3 separate regions of the Homo sapiens genome follow, and all the other regions are linked to region 1. The links are contacts of gene promoters, found by promoter capture Hi-C in human tissues and cell types (Jung and others, 2019). All regions are on one chromosome and are shown on one strand. Each heading gives the region's core, a stretch centred on a gene start or on the middle of the fragment in contact. The rest is flanking DNA. Distances are from core to core; before and after follow the strand shown. Region 1 holds the start of ERGIC3 (ERGIC and golgi 3). Region 2 holds the start of FAM83C (family with sequence similarity 83 member C). Region 3 overlaps UQCC1 (ubiquinol-cytochrome c reductase complex assembly factor 1).

The links. Contacts are between HindIII fragments. The study calls those that stand out against the background at their distance.
Region 2: a contact is called between the fragment with the promoter of FAM83C here and the fragment with the promoter of ERGIC3 in region 1, in 1 of the 25 tissues and cell types used here (mesenchymal stem cells).
Region 3: a fragment that was not itself captured here is called in contact with the fragment with the promoter of ERGIC3 in region 1 in 2 of the 25 tissues and cell types used here (dorsolateral prefrontal cortex and spleen).

Annotation. Positions count from the first base shown.
Region 1 is chr20:35,538,985-35,543,693 of GRCh38, forward strand. ERGIC3 (ERGIC and golgi 3) reads left to right here and starts at 3,094. Exons shown (of 13, transcript NM_015966.3): 1 at 3,094-3,201; 2 at 3,339-3,409; 3 at 3,529-3,616; 4 at 3,838-3,957. The coding sequence starts at 3,114. RefSeq lists an enhancer at 2,766-2,855. The HindIII fragment of the contact is 35,337 bases long and covers 1-4,709 here.
Region 2 is chr20:35,290,359-35,295,067 of GRCh38, forward strand. It overlaps FAM83C (family with sequence similarity 83 member C), which reads right to left and starts at 2,067. Exons shown (of 4, transcript NM_178468.6): 1 at 1,434-2,067. The coding sequence starts at 1,946. The HindIII fragment of the contact is 12,597 bases long and covers 469-4,709 here.
Region 3 is chr20:35,319,241-35,323,949 of GRCh38, forward strand. All of the region lies in intron 7 of UQCC1 (ubiquinol-cytochrome c reductase complex assembly factor 1), which reads right to left. Among named protein-coding and RNA genes, the nearest start is that of FAM83C, 29 kb to the left of the region's middle. The HindIII fragment of the contact is 3,522 bases long and covers 249-3,770 here.

The DNA of each region.
Region 1 (4,709 bases), core at 1,844-4,343:
GGGACTACAGGCGCCCGCTACTACGCCCGGCTAATTTTTTGTATTTTTAGTAGAGACAGGGTTTCACCATGTTAGCCAGGATGGTCTTGATCTCCTGACCTCGTGATCCGCCCGCCTCGGCCTCCCAAAGTGCTGGGATTACAGGCGTGAGCCACAGCGCCCGGCCTATGTTTTACATATATAACAATTTATATATAACTACATATATAATATATATAACAGTTTATATATATATATAACAGTTTATATATATAATATATATAACAGTTTATATATATATATATAACAGTTTATATATATAATATATATAACAGTTTATATATATAATATATATAACAGTTTATATATATAATATATAAGTTTATATATTATATATAACAGTTTATATATAACAGTTTATATATAATATATATAAGTTTATATATAACAGTTTATATATATAATATATATAAGTTTATATATAATATATATAAGTTTATATATATGTTTATATATAATATATATAACAGTTTATATATATAATATATATAACAGTTTATATATATAATATATATAACAGTTTATATATATAATATATATAACAGTTTATATATATAAAATATATAACAGTTTATATATATAATATATATAAGTTTATATATATAATATATATAACAGTTTATATATATTATATATATATATATGCACACACACAAAGAGAGAGAGAGAGACTCGCTCTGTCGCCCAGGCTGTAGTGCAGTGGTGTAATCACAGCTCACTATGAGGCAGGAGAACAGGGAATCAGGGTAACCGGGGGTTAAGACATAAGCAAATGAAGGGGTGCAGCCAGTTCTAGGCAGCATACAGGCCACATCTTCAATCCTATGATAACGAGACAGAAGTTTCCACTTCCGCCTCCGATTGACCGTGGGGCCAAATCTCCACTTCAGCCTCTGATTGGCTGTGGGCCAAGTCTCCACTTCAGCCTCTGATTTGGTCGCAGGCCAATCCTTCATAGGTGTAGCCAACTGGAGGCTTCTAAAGGGCACCTAGGGGTGTTGCCAGGTCCCTTTAGCTTAATACAAACCCTGATTGAGGAGGCTCTTGAGCAGCTTGCTCTAACCAGCTGCCGCTATGAATCGTCTTCAATAAATCTATGCTTTTGTTATTCCGTTCTTCTGTTGCTGTTTGTCTTTCGTTGCCCTTCTGTTACTTTATGTGTTTTGTTCAACACGCCAAGAACCTGGACAACTCTATGCTGGTAACAACTGCAGGTAACCTGGTAACAACTGCAGTTTCAAACTCTCCTGGGCTCAACCCCAGCCTCCCAGGTAGCTGAGACTATAGACGCATGCCACCACACCTGGCTAATTTTTTTATTTTTATTTTTATTTTTGGAGACAGAATCTCACTCTGTCGCCCAGGCTGGAATGCAATGGCATGATCTCGGCTCACTGCAACCTCCGCCTCCCAGGTTCAAGCGATTCTCCTGCCTCGGACTCACAAGTAGCTGGGTTTACAGGAGCACACTACCACGCCTGGCTAATTTTTGTATTTTTAGTAGAGATGGGGTTTCACCATGTTGACCAGGCTGGTCTCAAACTCCTGAACTCAAGTGATGCTTCCTGGCTCGGCCTCCTGAAGTGCTAGGGTTACAGATGTAGTTTTTAAAGTTTTTGTAGAGTGGGGTCTTGCTGTGTTGCCCAGGCTGGTCTTAGACTCCTGGCCTCATGTGATCCTCCTCGGTCTCCCAAAGTGCTGTGATTACAGGTGTGAGCCATTGTGCCCAGCCCAATTTTTAATTAAAAAATGGAATGATGGAATGCACATTACTTTGCATCTTTTCCCCCTTAAAAATACATTCTTAGTATACCTAAAGGAGTAAATCTACCTCATTCTTTTGAAAAGTGGCCTAATATTCCATAGAATGGGTGTATCGTGATTTATTCAATTTATTTAATGTATCAGTGGGCATTCTGGCTGGTTCCAGATTTTTGCCATTGAACAATCTCATGCATACATCTTTATGATGTGGTGCACTTAAAATCTTTAAGAGACAGATTCAATATCTTAAGGTGTAACAACCACCCAGATCATGGTACTTTTATCCTTATATTAAAATTTTTTTCTGTTAACCTTGGATAGCTGCTTACATATTTTTTCTTTTTCAAAATTTTTCTATTAACCTTGACATGGTGCTTTTACTTCCTAAAGTGGAATTCCTGTATGAAAGCCTATGAGCTTTTATATCTTACTCATTGCAGCTGCATTACTGTGGGAGCTGTCCCTCTAGAGACACTGGGCTGCAATGGGAAGTGTCAGGGAGAGCTTAAGCTCCATATCACTTGAGTCTAAACCTGGAGGGATAGAGCGTGTCCGTGAGGATCCCAGGGCCTGGAGAGCAATTTAGGGTAATATTCAGAAAGCAGCGCTCAGGAGAAGCACTGGGACGCTGTTTAGGTAAAATCAACCCAAAAGACCCTGATTCCCAGAGTACTTTGAGGTCCAGAAGAACTGGGCTGGAAGCAGGTCCTGCTATTAATTGGCTGTGATCTTGGGCAAGTTATTTAACTTCTCCAGGTCACAGTTTGCTCTTTGGAAAACGGAGATAAGTCACACCTGCTTTCAGGGCGGACACCCTTACTTTACATCAGAATCATCCGATGCCATTCCTAGCGTTTCGGCTTCAGTAGGTGGGAATCAATTATTTGCATTTCTAATAGGTAATCAGTTGATAATGATGCGGCCGGTCCGGTACACTCGAAAAACCACTGTTCCAGGATATTCCAAGATGTTCCAAGAGTCTTAAACACCTGGTGCAGTTCCGAGCACAAGGCACACGAACGGTGCTATTAGCGTTTCTAACCCCGCAGAGAACTCCTCGCACCCCAGTCCTCAAAATCCCGCCCCGGACAGCGGAGGCCGGGGCAGTAGCTTCCAGACCCAATTGCCCGCGCAAGGGGGCGTGGCAGCATCGTTGGGCGGGGCCGCCTGTAAGAGAACGCGGCTAAAGGTGGGGCCAAGCGTGCGGTTTGCTGCGCCTGCGTGAGGAAAAAGAGGGGGGCGTGGCTCCAGGCCGGAAGAGGGAGTCTGTAGGGGCGGGCCGGCTGGCGTCCCCTTTCCGGCCGGTCCCCATGGAGGCGCTGGGGAAGCTGAAGCAGTTCGATGCCTACCCCAAGACTTTGGAGGACTTCCGGGTCAAGACCTGCGGGGGCGCCACCGGTAGGCCGCAGCGGGGCCGGGGTCGCGTGGAGGGGGGCGTCCTAGAGCTTAGCCCGGGCTCCTGGACTCTGACTGGCCTGCCGGTGTCTGAGGGAGCGGATTCGAGGCCATTCTGACCCTCGCCCCTTGTCCTGCAGTGACCATTGTCAGTGGCCTTCTCATGCTGCTACTGTTCCTGTCCGAGCTGCAGTATTACCTCACCACGGAGGTAAGGGGCGGGGCTTAGTGCGTGGGCGGGGCTTGGCATTCTAGGAGTAGGACCTTTAGGGGTGGGAGTGGGGAAGGAGAGGTTTGGGGCTAAGTCTTACTGAGGTAGCGCTGCCCCAGGTGCATCCTGAGCTCTACGTGGACAAGTCGCGGGGAGATAAACTGAAGATCAACATCGATGTACTTTTTCCGCACATGCCTTGTGCCTGTGAGTACCTCACCATGGGTGGGACTGGAGAGACCCAGGGTTCTCATGTGGGCTGCCAGATTCACACCTCCACCCTTAGGTTCTGGACTGGACCCCAGGACAACCTCCTTCTCCTCATCCCGTTCTGCCCCAAGACAGGCCCAGTATCCCCTTCCCCTCCAAAACCCACATCCCCTTGTCCCTAGGGTCCCAGTACCTTAGCCTGATTTTCCTGCTTCCAGATCTGAGTATTGATGCCATGGATGTGGCCGGAGAACAGCAGCTGGATGTGGAACACAACCTGTTCAAGCAACGACTAGATAAAGATGGCATCCCCGTGAGCTCAGAGGCTGAGCGGCATGGTAACCAGGGGAGGGGGCCGGGTCTCAGATCCCAAAGCTGGATGTACCCAAGCCTATCTGCTAGCAAGTGAACTGTGGCAGGCATAGTGATACATTAAACAACTAAGAGCTAGAGAAGTCAAGTGACTTGCCTAGGGTCCCCCAGCTAGTAAGAGTCAGAGTGAGCTAAAATCCTCTATACATATCGAGTCAGGTAATCTACCTGGCTATTATTCTCAGAGGTCCTCAATACCTGCAGATGGTAGTTTGAATACCAGAGGTTTGAAGATAGGTCTTATGTGCTCTTGCCTTGGTAGAACTGTCTAGATGGACCCAGGCTTCTTTGAGTGTTTGCTTTCCCAGCCCATTGGCTTAATTCAGCCCTTAATGCTCTTCCCCTTTGGAATGCAGGTGGTTTAATGAGAATTTAGGTTCTCAAGTCAGATTGCCTGGGTTCACATCTAGCTTTGTCTCCTGCAGTCTGTGAGCTTCAGCTAGAAAGTGGTAATAAAACAGTAGTACCAACCACATGGAATTGTAAGATCAAATGAAGTCATATGTGTAAAATGCCTGGTACAGAGTGGGTACCCACTTTTACCTTCCTTTCCTTTATCTTGGTGGCTTCCCAATTCCCTTCGTTAACTCAGTTTCCCACCACAGCAAACTGTCCTCAAAGCTGGGATTTCTAACACCTTAGAGATTACTCTGGTGGGGAGTTTTATCATTCGTTGTTTCAGCAGATTAATGCAGGACACCAGTGGAACCAACATAAT
Region 2 (4,709 bases), core at 817-3,316, 250 kb before region 1:
GCATAGCACTCCAGCTCTGGAGTCAGAAAGAACTGGGTTCAAACCTGGACTCTATCACTTCCTGGTGACACAGCTTTGGGTGAGTCCCTTCACCTCTGGAAGCCTCACCTTCCTCATCTGTTAAATGGAGATAATGATAGCCATGTCTCAGAGTTACAGGGAATTAAATGTGAAAATGCTCAAGACATAACAGAGCTCTATAAACATTGGGCTGCAGGGCAACGCAGCATTTCCCAAGGTCACTAGGAGTCATGACAGCCCAGTGCACGAACCTGGCTCCTGACCCAGGATAGAGGGGTCTAAATGGGGGCTGAGAAGGCGAGGCACTGGGGGATGCCCTAGTTCACAGCACAGGCCTGGCCAGGGTGGGGGAACAAGGACAGGCAGGAAGATCAAAGAGGCAGGGGTGAGGAGGACGACAGCAGCAGCCTCACTAATAACCCCATTCCTGATGCCAATCAGGCCTGGCCGTCCCCTGCCTGGGGCACAGGAAGGCTTGCCAGGGAGGCTCTGGAAGTACCGGTGGGATCCCAGCATCCTGGCTTCCCATCTCTGCAGCAGGAGCCTAACTCTCCCTCAAACCCTGCCAGGGATCATCTCGTCCATTCCCCTGGAGTCGGAGGCCAGGGCTTCAGAAGGGAAGCTGTGCTCGTGTGTGGCCAGAGCCTTTCTGGGTGCTGACCACCCCTACCTGCCCTCCCAATTCTCTTTCTCCTGAGCTCCCGCTCCCCATCACTGAGCCCAGCAGCCTCCTCTCCTCCTTCCTCCTTGGTTCCAAAGCCCAGCCCTCAAGGCCACGCCAAAGAGGCCCACACGCTGGCCCCTTCCCCTGCTTCAGGCCCAGCTGCAGATGTGGTGCAGGAGGGTAGGGGGCAACTAGGGACCTGAGCCAGCAAGGAGGGCCGGACTGGTCCCCAGGACCCAAGTCAGAGAGCCCCTGTCTCCCCAAGCCCTGAGCTCTATGTCACCATATGGACCTCCCTGGGCAAGTCCCAAGCCCCTCTCTGGCCTCAGTTTCTTCTTCTATAAGTGAAGGAGGTGACTCAGATGTTCCCCAAGGTTGGAGTTCTTAGTGTGGGGATCATAAAACTTTTTGAGAATCTGATTTAAGGCAGTGGAGCATCTTCCAAGGTAAAGATGCAGCGAGGACTCCTCCCTCCAACCTGCACCACTTCGTGTGCATTTCAGGGGATTGTGGAGTCCCTGACACCCATGCCCTGTTCTATGCTCATCCATACTATTCCTGGGTACCAAGCAGTTGCCAAGGTAAATATGGGATGTCCCCCTTCTAGGAGTTTGCAATCTAATAGTGCCAGAGGTGCTGGTCCTCATTCTGCCCCTAAGTCGCTGTGTGGCCTTGGGCTGGTCCCTTCCCTCTCTGGACCTCAGTTTCCTCCTCTGTGAGATGAGTGATGGAGAGATGAGGCCCTTACCGTGTGGGCCTGGCTGAAAAGGAAGCGCAGCAGGTCCTTGATGTTCTTGGCCTTGTCCCTCTGGAAGTGGACCACAGCCTGGGTGGGGCTGAAGCCTGTGGCCTGTGGCACCTCGGGCCAGCCCAGGTCCAGGTCTGGGGGGTCTATGTCAGAGGCCATGGGGAAGTAAGTCCCTGAGGTGACTTCAGAGAGCAGGCTGAGGCGGTCTGGCCCGGAGGCCTCCTGCCCCTGAGCCTCGCTGAGCTCAGGGCCCCCGCGCACATGGCTGGTCATGTAGTCCACATCCAGGGCGCTCAGGAAGGGCAGCTCCCGCTCCTCGGAGATGACCCGCAGGTAGGCAGCCTCACCCCGCTCCAGGAGGGCGTCGGCCGCCAGCCGAGCCGCCTCGCTGTGCCGCAGCACCAGCGGTGAGCTCTCCCGCCACCACGGCAGCTTCAGCTCTTCCACCCGGCCCCGCAGGGGTCCCGCCATGCCCTGGGCTCCCAGGACCCCAGGCCCCGGGCCTCCGAACATGCCTGCCACGCGGCTGCCTCACCCGCCGGCAGGGCCCATGGCCCGCACGCTGGGCTGGCTGCAGCAGGAAGAGGAGACCAGCAGAACCGCCTTCTGCCCGCCCGCTCGCTGTGTGTGTGGCAGGGCCCCCAAACTGTTGCCACCCTAAATCAGAGCCACGCTCCACCCTATTGCCCCTGGCCTCTGGAACCTGTCAGGTCAGCCCCACCTGTCTGCCTGTGTTGGGACTCGCCTGCCCAGGGAAGCGGCAGTGCCAGGCCCTCGGTGCACACTCCTGCCTCCCTCTCTTCCTCCCAGCAACGCCGCCCCATCCCCACCAGGCTCCCAGCAAGTCTCCAAATGCTGACTTCCCGGGACCCACAGAGGTTGAATTACAGCCAAGAGGGGCCCAGGCGACTCAGGAACACACACTCACACGCACACGCACACACACTGCAGGTGGGTGAGCGACTCAAGACACCCAGGAAAAGACATGAACACCCATGCAGATGGACACACTGACAACTGACCGATACACAGACATGGAGTGTGGGCTGACACAGACCGACCACACATTGTAATCACATCCACTTGCATAAACTCTTCACCCAAACGCCGATGTAGAGACCGGCCATGACCCCCACAACACATACCACAGTGGATAGCACGTGCCCTGGCTCAAGTCTGCAAGGCCCTGAGAGCTGAACGACTGTCACATGGAATATCCAAGGACATCAACGCTGGTCTGTCCCCCAGCCAGCCCTCTTTTTGCTCCCATAATCGTCCTGCCACTCTCCATCATCTTAACTGTGGTGCTCACAGCCCCCTGGCTCTCTCCCACCCCGGCTCGGAGCTGTCCTTCAAGAACCTAGAGCAGTGGCTCTCACCCTGACCCCAGGGGTGGTGAGAGGTGATGAAATGCAGATCCCCGGGCCCCACCCTCCTGGAAATTCTCATCCAGAAGGTGTCCGTAGGCTTCTGGAGCTTGTCTTTTTTCTTTTTCTTTTTGAGATAGGGTCTTGCTCTGTCACCCAGTCTGGAGGGCAGTGGCGCAATCACAGCTCACTACAGCTGTGCCTCAGTTTCTCTGGACTCGAGCGATCTTCCCACCTCAGCCTCCTGAGTAGCTGGGATTACAGGTGCATGTTACCATGCTCGGCTACTTTTAAAATTTTTTTAGAGATGGGATCTCACTATGTTGCCCAGGCTGATCTTGAACTCCTGGCCTCAAGCAATCCTCCTGTCTCAGCCTCCCAAAGTGCTGGGATTACAGGTGTGAGCCGCCACACCTGGCCATTTTTCTTTTTTAATTGAGACATGATCTTGCTCTGTCACCCAGGCTAGAGAGAGCAGTGATGTGATCATAGCTTACTGTAACCTCAAATTCCTGAGTTTTTAAACAAGTGCCCAGTGCACTGTGGGCAGTGGGCTAAGGCCCACCCCTGAGACATGCTGTTCCAGATGGCTGTGCTTGCAACACCCTTAACTCCAGGGATGTTCTTGGCCTGGTGGTGGCCAGACCCCAGCCTTCTTCCCCTCCTCCAGGGCTGAGTATGAAAATGGTTGGAAGGTTGTTTCAGAGAATGGGCGGACACACTGCAAGGTCAGGAGGCAAACAGGGCAGGTAGATTTCTGACCTCTGCCCCAACAAAGATTAAAGTCCTGGAGCATGTACCGTGTGTCCTTCGGAGGATGGTGAGCAGCTTTGCTCTGGGGAAGGGGGTGAGCAGGTGACAGCTGCAGCTGGGGAGCCAGGCTAGGCAGAAGCGGTCACCACCTTTCCACGGAGGCATGAGGTCCAGCGAGGATGGCGGGAAGCGCAGAAGACCTAAAGCCGTGCCTCGCAGCCTGTTTAGCACTAAGCGCACTTGGTTTATCTGGTCTGCGATCATGTCCGGAACACAGGGTCTTCTGTGTCCAAAGAACTTGACACACATATAGTGGGAGGGAGCTGGGTGGGATTTAGAGGTTCCGGAGTTGAGCTGAGCCCTAGGACCAAAGGTGAATGGGGCTAGGGCTGTGTCTTCAAGGACCCTATAAGTGAAGGGCCTGGGGGAGCATGGGGGAGCCACAGGTCAGGAGTTATGGCCTACTCCATCCCATCCCAGGTGCAGGAGCACCGGGCACTCCAAGGAGGCCCTTCCATGGGGGTGAGGAGGCTGCAAGAGGGGCAGAAGGTTGAGTAAACAAAGCCAGACCGTGGGAGGGTGATGAGCTGTGGGGGCAGCCGAGGTGGCAGGGCCATCATTAGGGCCTTATCTCCAGATTTGTTTGAAGGGGAGGACCAACCAGGGTCTTATCTGGGTGGTAGAAGTGCTCCCGGGAGGGAGGGAGGCATGTTTGCGTGTCACTGAGTTAGTTTTGTTTATCTTGCAGTGTGTATACATCTACTTCAGGTACATATCTTTGGCTCTGTATCTTTTAATTGTGGTAAAATACGCATAAAATTTGCCTTTAAAAAATAATTCGTGGCCAGACGCTGTGGCTCATGCCTATAATCCCAGCCCTTTGGGAGGCCGAGGTGGGCGGATCACCTGAGGTTGGGAGTTCAAGACCAGACTGACCAACATGGTGAAACCCCATCCATCTCTAATAAAAATACAAAAAGTAGGTGGCTGTGGTGGCAGGCGCCCATAATCCCAGCTACTTGGGAGGCTGAGGCAGGAGAATCGCTTGAACCTGGGAGGCAGAGGTTGAGGTGAGCTGAGATTACGCCACTGCACTCCAGCCTGGGTGACAGAGCGAGACTTCATCTCAAAAAAAAAAAAAAAAGAATTAGAGATG
Region 3 (4,709 bases), core at 760-3,259, 220 kb before region 1:
TTCCTGTAATGACTTAATTAAATTTTTATTGAGTACATAAACTATGATGTCACCTCTAGCCAACCACAGGCCTGCTTTCCCAGCATGTCACAGGGAGGGAGCACTCAATAGGAGGCTTGGCTAAATGAGCAGCAGGTCTCAGCTGAAATGGGGAGGGGAGTGAGGCTCATGTAACACACTCAATAAATTATCCGTTCATTTTTAAACAAAGTCCATGAGTTATAATATATTTGCCATGCACTTTTTATGACATAATAAAAATGTTACCTTAAGGATTACTTAACACATACTACAAATATTATAGCAGAGGCAGGCACAAGGGGCAAAGAAAACAAACACGAGCAGGCCAGGGACGGGTCCTGGAGTTTATGTCCCAGGGGAAACAGCATAGTATATTAAAAAGGGAATGCAAAAAAAAGGAAGGGATGCAAGAGTTCAGGGTTACTAATCGGCAGATTAATGAATGAGACAACCAACAGAGAACACAAGTAAGGCAATAATGAATCTTGCAGGGCACATGTTTAATTAAAGTAGCATTCTCAAGGAGGAATATTAGCTTTAAAGAGATGCCAGTTCATTTGAGGCCAATTCGCTGCTCTCTTTCCCCTTTTCACTGTTGCTGCCTTAAAGATATTTATGTGACTGCTTAACAGAGGAACCAGACTATGTGGATACAGGGACTGATGGGAGATCAAGTTTTAACTCCTCCATGGACTCTACAAGGCTTCTAGTGATCTGCTCTTGGCCATCTTTTTTGCCTCCCCTCCTCTTGCCTCCCCATCTTACTTCACCCTGCAGTCAGTAAAGTATGTGCACAGATACATCATGCTGTCATCTATTTCTTAGTCATACTGCTGCCAGGAATTCTTCTCTTCTTTATCCACTGATGGAAGGGATGCTAACTCCTTATCCTCTAAGACTTAGCACACATATTTTCTCTACTAAGTCTGCCCTCTCCCCCATCTACAGGTGCCCCAAAGTGATTCAAGTCTGGAGACGGGTCCCATCATTCATTATTTACCAAGTGCCAATAACTGTGCTACAACTTTACACATTAGCCCACTTAAACCTTCCCAAGGACTCTAAGAGACAGGAACTGTTACTGTCTCCACTTTAGAGAAGAGGAATCTGATGTTTGGGAAAGTTAAAGCTAGACAGCTAGGAAATAGTGGGGTCAAGATAAGAATACAGAGCAATCCAACTCCATTGCCTACCTGTGTTGGAATAGACACTGGAAGGAATGTAGCTGCCCCTTCCTGTGCCCCACAGCTCAGGCTATCTGCAGAGGCAGAACTAAGAAATGCTAATGTGGTCTTGAGTAAACACAACTCAGAGATTCCAGTTCCAGTGGCAGCTAGAGACAGCCACCAGATGGGTCATCAGTGGCCGGTTACTAATACATCAGATATCCCTAGTAGAGCCAAGCTCCACTCCTGGGAAAACCTGAGGTTGAGAGTGGGTGTAATTATGGTGGGGGAATGGGAAAACAGAAGAAAGTTGGTATGGAAAACACTGATGAGCATGAAGGTGAGAATAAGCTTTAAGGTTACTGGCTTGAAGCAAAGTTGCTAACAGTAGCAGACTAAGAATTTGCTGGAATGAATGAATGACAAAGGACAGCTAGAGTTGCTGGCTGAAGCCTAAGGACTATATCAAATTCATCATAAGGCAACAATGCAACACAAGATTGTAGGTCATGTTTTAGTTTGCTGTAGTAGACAGTAATGCCACCACCAATGCTTTGCAGTGCCAACGCCATGTTCTACAGTCATTGTGCGGCAACAGGCTGATGTGCACTGAACATCAGCTAGCCTATTTAAAGTTCAGGTTAGAAATTAGCCCACTGTGGAATATTTTGTGAGATACTTAGAAACAGAGTAAGAGTAGACAGACAAGAGAGACGGGGGACATGGAGAGACCAAATAAAAAAGTCTACCTGTTAACTCACATGCATTACGACTGAAAGATCTATTGAGGGTCTTTTAGCAATGATGACAAAATACAAACAAAACTGTGTGTGTGTGTGTGTGTGTGTGTGTGTGTGCGCGCGCGCGCGCGCACGCTCAGGCACGCATGCATATTGAGCAGTTCCAGAAAAAGTTGTTAATACCAAGAATAAAAAGAAAAATATTTTAAATGAAAGACAATTTCTTTTTCTCTTTTTAGAAAATAATGTGAACATTTAAATAGAGTATGTTCCCGTTGCGATGAAAGGCCAACCTAAACCCAGCATGAGGAGGTCCATTTTAAAATCCATTTTAAACATTTCAAACTTTTAATGTACAAGGGAAGCTTGCTATGATGACATGCTGTTTAAAAATATTCCCTTATTGGCTGGGCAAGGTGGCTTACGTGTATAATCCCCATGCTTTGTGAGGCCAAGGCAGGTGGATCACTTGAGGCCAGGAGTTCAAGACTAGCCTGGACAAAAAAGTGAGGTCCTGTCTCTACAACATAGTAATAATAATACAAACCCCTTTCTTATTTATTTTGAAAATTCTAGTTTTGCTGCTTGGGATCTACATGTTCAAGACTGCATAGCCTGATAATGTGCTGAAAAACAAGGGACATGGTTGGCAGACAGAATTGCAGAACCAGCAGCCCTAATTTCTATATAGTCACGAAGTACAGGAGTCCTTCCCTCAGGCTTGGAAAATAGCCAAGAGAGAAGAGATGTATGTCCTCAGAAATTCTAGTCATTTGTCCAGTTGAGAAAACATGAGAACACATAATATTAAGTCCACAATCATCTTCAAAAGGAGCTGATGAGGTACACTACGGTTCTGGGATGATCAAACTACCATGGCAATTTAACTTTCGTCTCTTTTAGGGCATTTGAATAAGGGGAACATTATAGCTATAATCTACTTTGGTTTCTGGAAGCTTTTTGTAGTATTCCACATGACAAGTCTCATGCATACTCATTAGAGAAGCCAACACCTGGCTTGAAAGAGTCGCAGTTTCAACAACAGCACTGATGGTGCGGAGTCCTAAAGGAAATAATCCTGGGTACTATCTAAAATCCGTACTGATAATAATGATGACAGTGATGGTCGTAACAATGATTACACAATGCATTTAATAATATTTTCATTTTATTATCTTATTTGTGCCTCACAACCACAACCCTGCCCTCGAGGAGCTCACAGCCAAAATGCTATTGTTGTCCTGATTCTATAAACAAGGAAACAGAAGCTCAAAACTGTTAAGTGGCCAGGTGCGGTGGCTCACGCCTGTAATCTCAGCACTCTGGGAGGCTGAGGTGGGCCGATAACCTGAGGTCGGGAGTTCGAGACCAGCCTGGCCAACATAGTGAAACCCCATGTCTACTAAAATACAAAAAATTAGCTGGGCATAGTGGCGCATACCTGTAGTCCCAGCTACTCAGGAGGCTGAGGCGGGGGAACCATTGAACCCGAGAGGCAGAAGTTGCAGTGAGCCAAGATTGTGCCACTGCACTCCAGCCTGGCAACTGAGCAAGACTCTGTCTCAAAAAACAAAAACAAAAACAAAAACAAAAACGTTAAGTCACTTGTAGTCAAATCACATCCTGCTTGTAAGTGACAGTGCTGGGACTTTTAACTCAGATGGTCAGTCTCTAAATCTACTGTCTTTTCTTTTTTTTGAGACGGAGTCTTGCTCTGTCACCCAGGCTGGAGTGCAGTGGGACCATCTCGGCTCACTGCAAGCTCCGCCTCCCGGGTTCACGCCATTCTCCTGCCTCAGCCTCCTGAGTAGCTGGGACTACAGGCGCCTACCACCATGCCCGGCTAATTTTTTGTATTTTTAGTAGAGACGGGGTTTCACCGTGTTAGCCAGCATGGTCTTGACCTCCTGACCTTGTGATCCGCCTGCCTCAGCCTCCCAAAGTGCTGGGATTGCAGGCGTGAGCCACCGCGCCCGGCCCCAATCTACTGTCTTTTCTAAGCGATCACACCTTTCTGCTTCTGATGAGTCATATGAGAAATGGAAGAATCACACAAGCACAAAGCTAAAATTGCTCATTTCTGCACTTTGGAAAGCAAGAGTAAAATAGACTCTTTTTAAATTTAGAAAAACTGTCCTTAAAAAGAAGATGAGATTCGACAAGGTCAAATGCACAGTATTATGTCTATATCAAAATAAAAAAATAACAGGATGAAGCAAGGGTCTGACCAAGTAGATGTAATAGCATCCCAGAGCAAATCTTTCTCATGAACAGATAAATCAGAAATATGAAAAGGTAATTATTATTATCTATATTAAAGGAAAAGCCATATGCAAAGGTCAAAAAGTTTTCTCCCCTCATTTATTTTAATAGTCAAAAGTCTTTGTCTTACCAACCGTACTTAAGAATGAACATGGAGAAACCAGAGAGGTTTCAAGAAAGAATGTCAGATATATATGGTTACAATGGGTTGGCACTGGTCACAGGCCAGGGCGTTCAAGATTCTATGGCCAAGAGAAACACCCAGAGGCTATTCCATGGATTGGTCAGGTTGCCTCCATCATCTGCCTCAATGGGTCAGTAGATCTTAGAAGTACTGTGACACTGAGGTTTCTCTCTCTGCATTTCTTCCTTATGTTCAGGACCTACTCTTTCCCATTTCCACGAGTTGGCAGGCTGTTGATCCTAGAATGCTGTCCTCTCATCACAGAGATGGGCACATAGCTGAAGCTTAGCTAATCTGACTCTTGCTTCTGAGAGTACAAACAACCAAATATAAAAG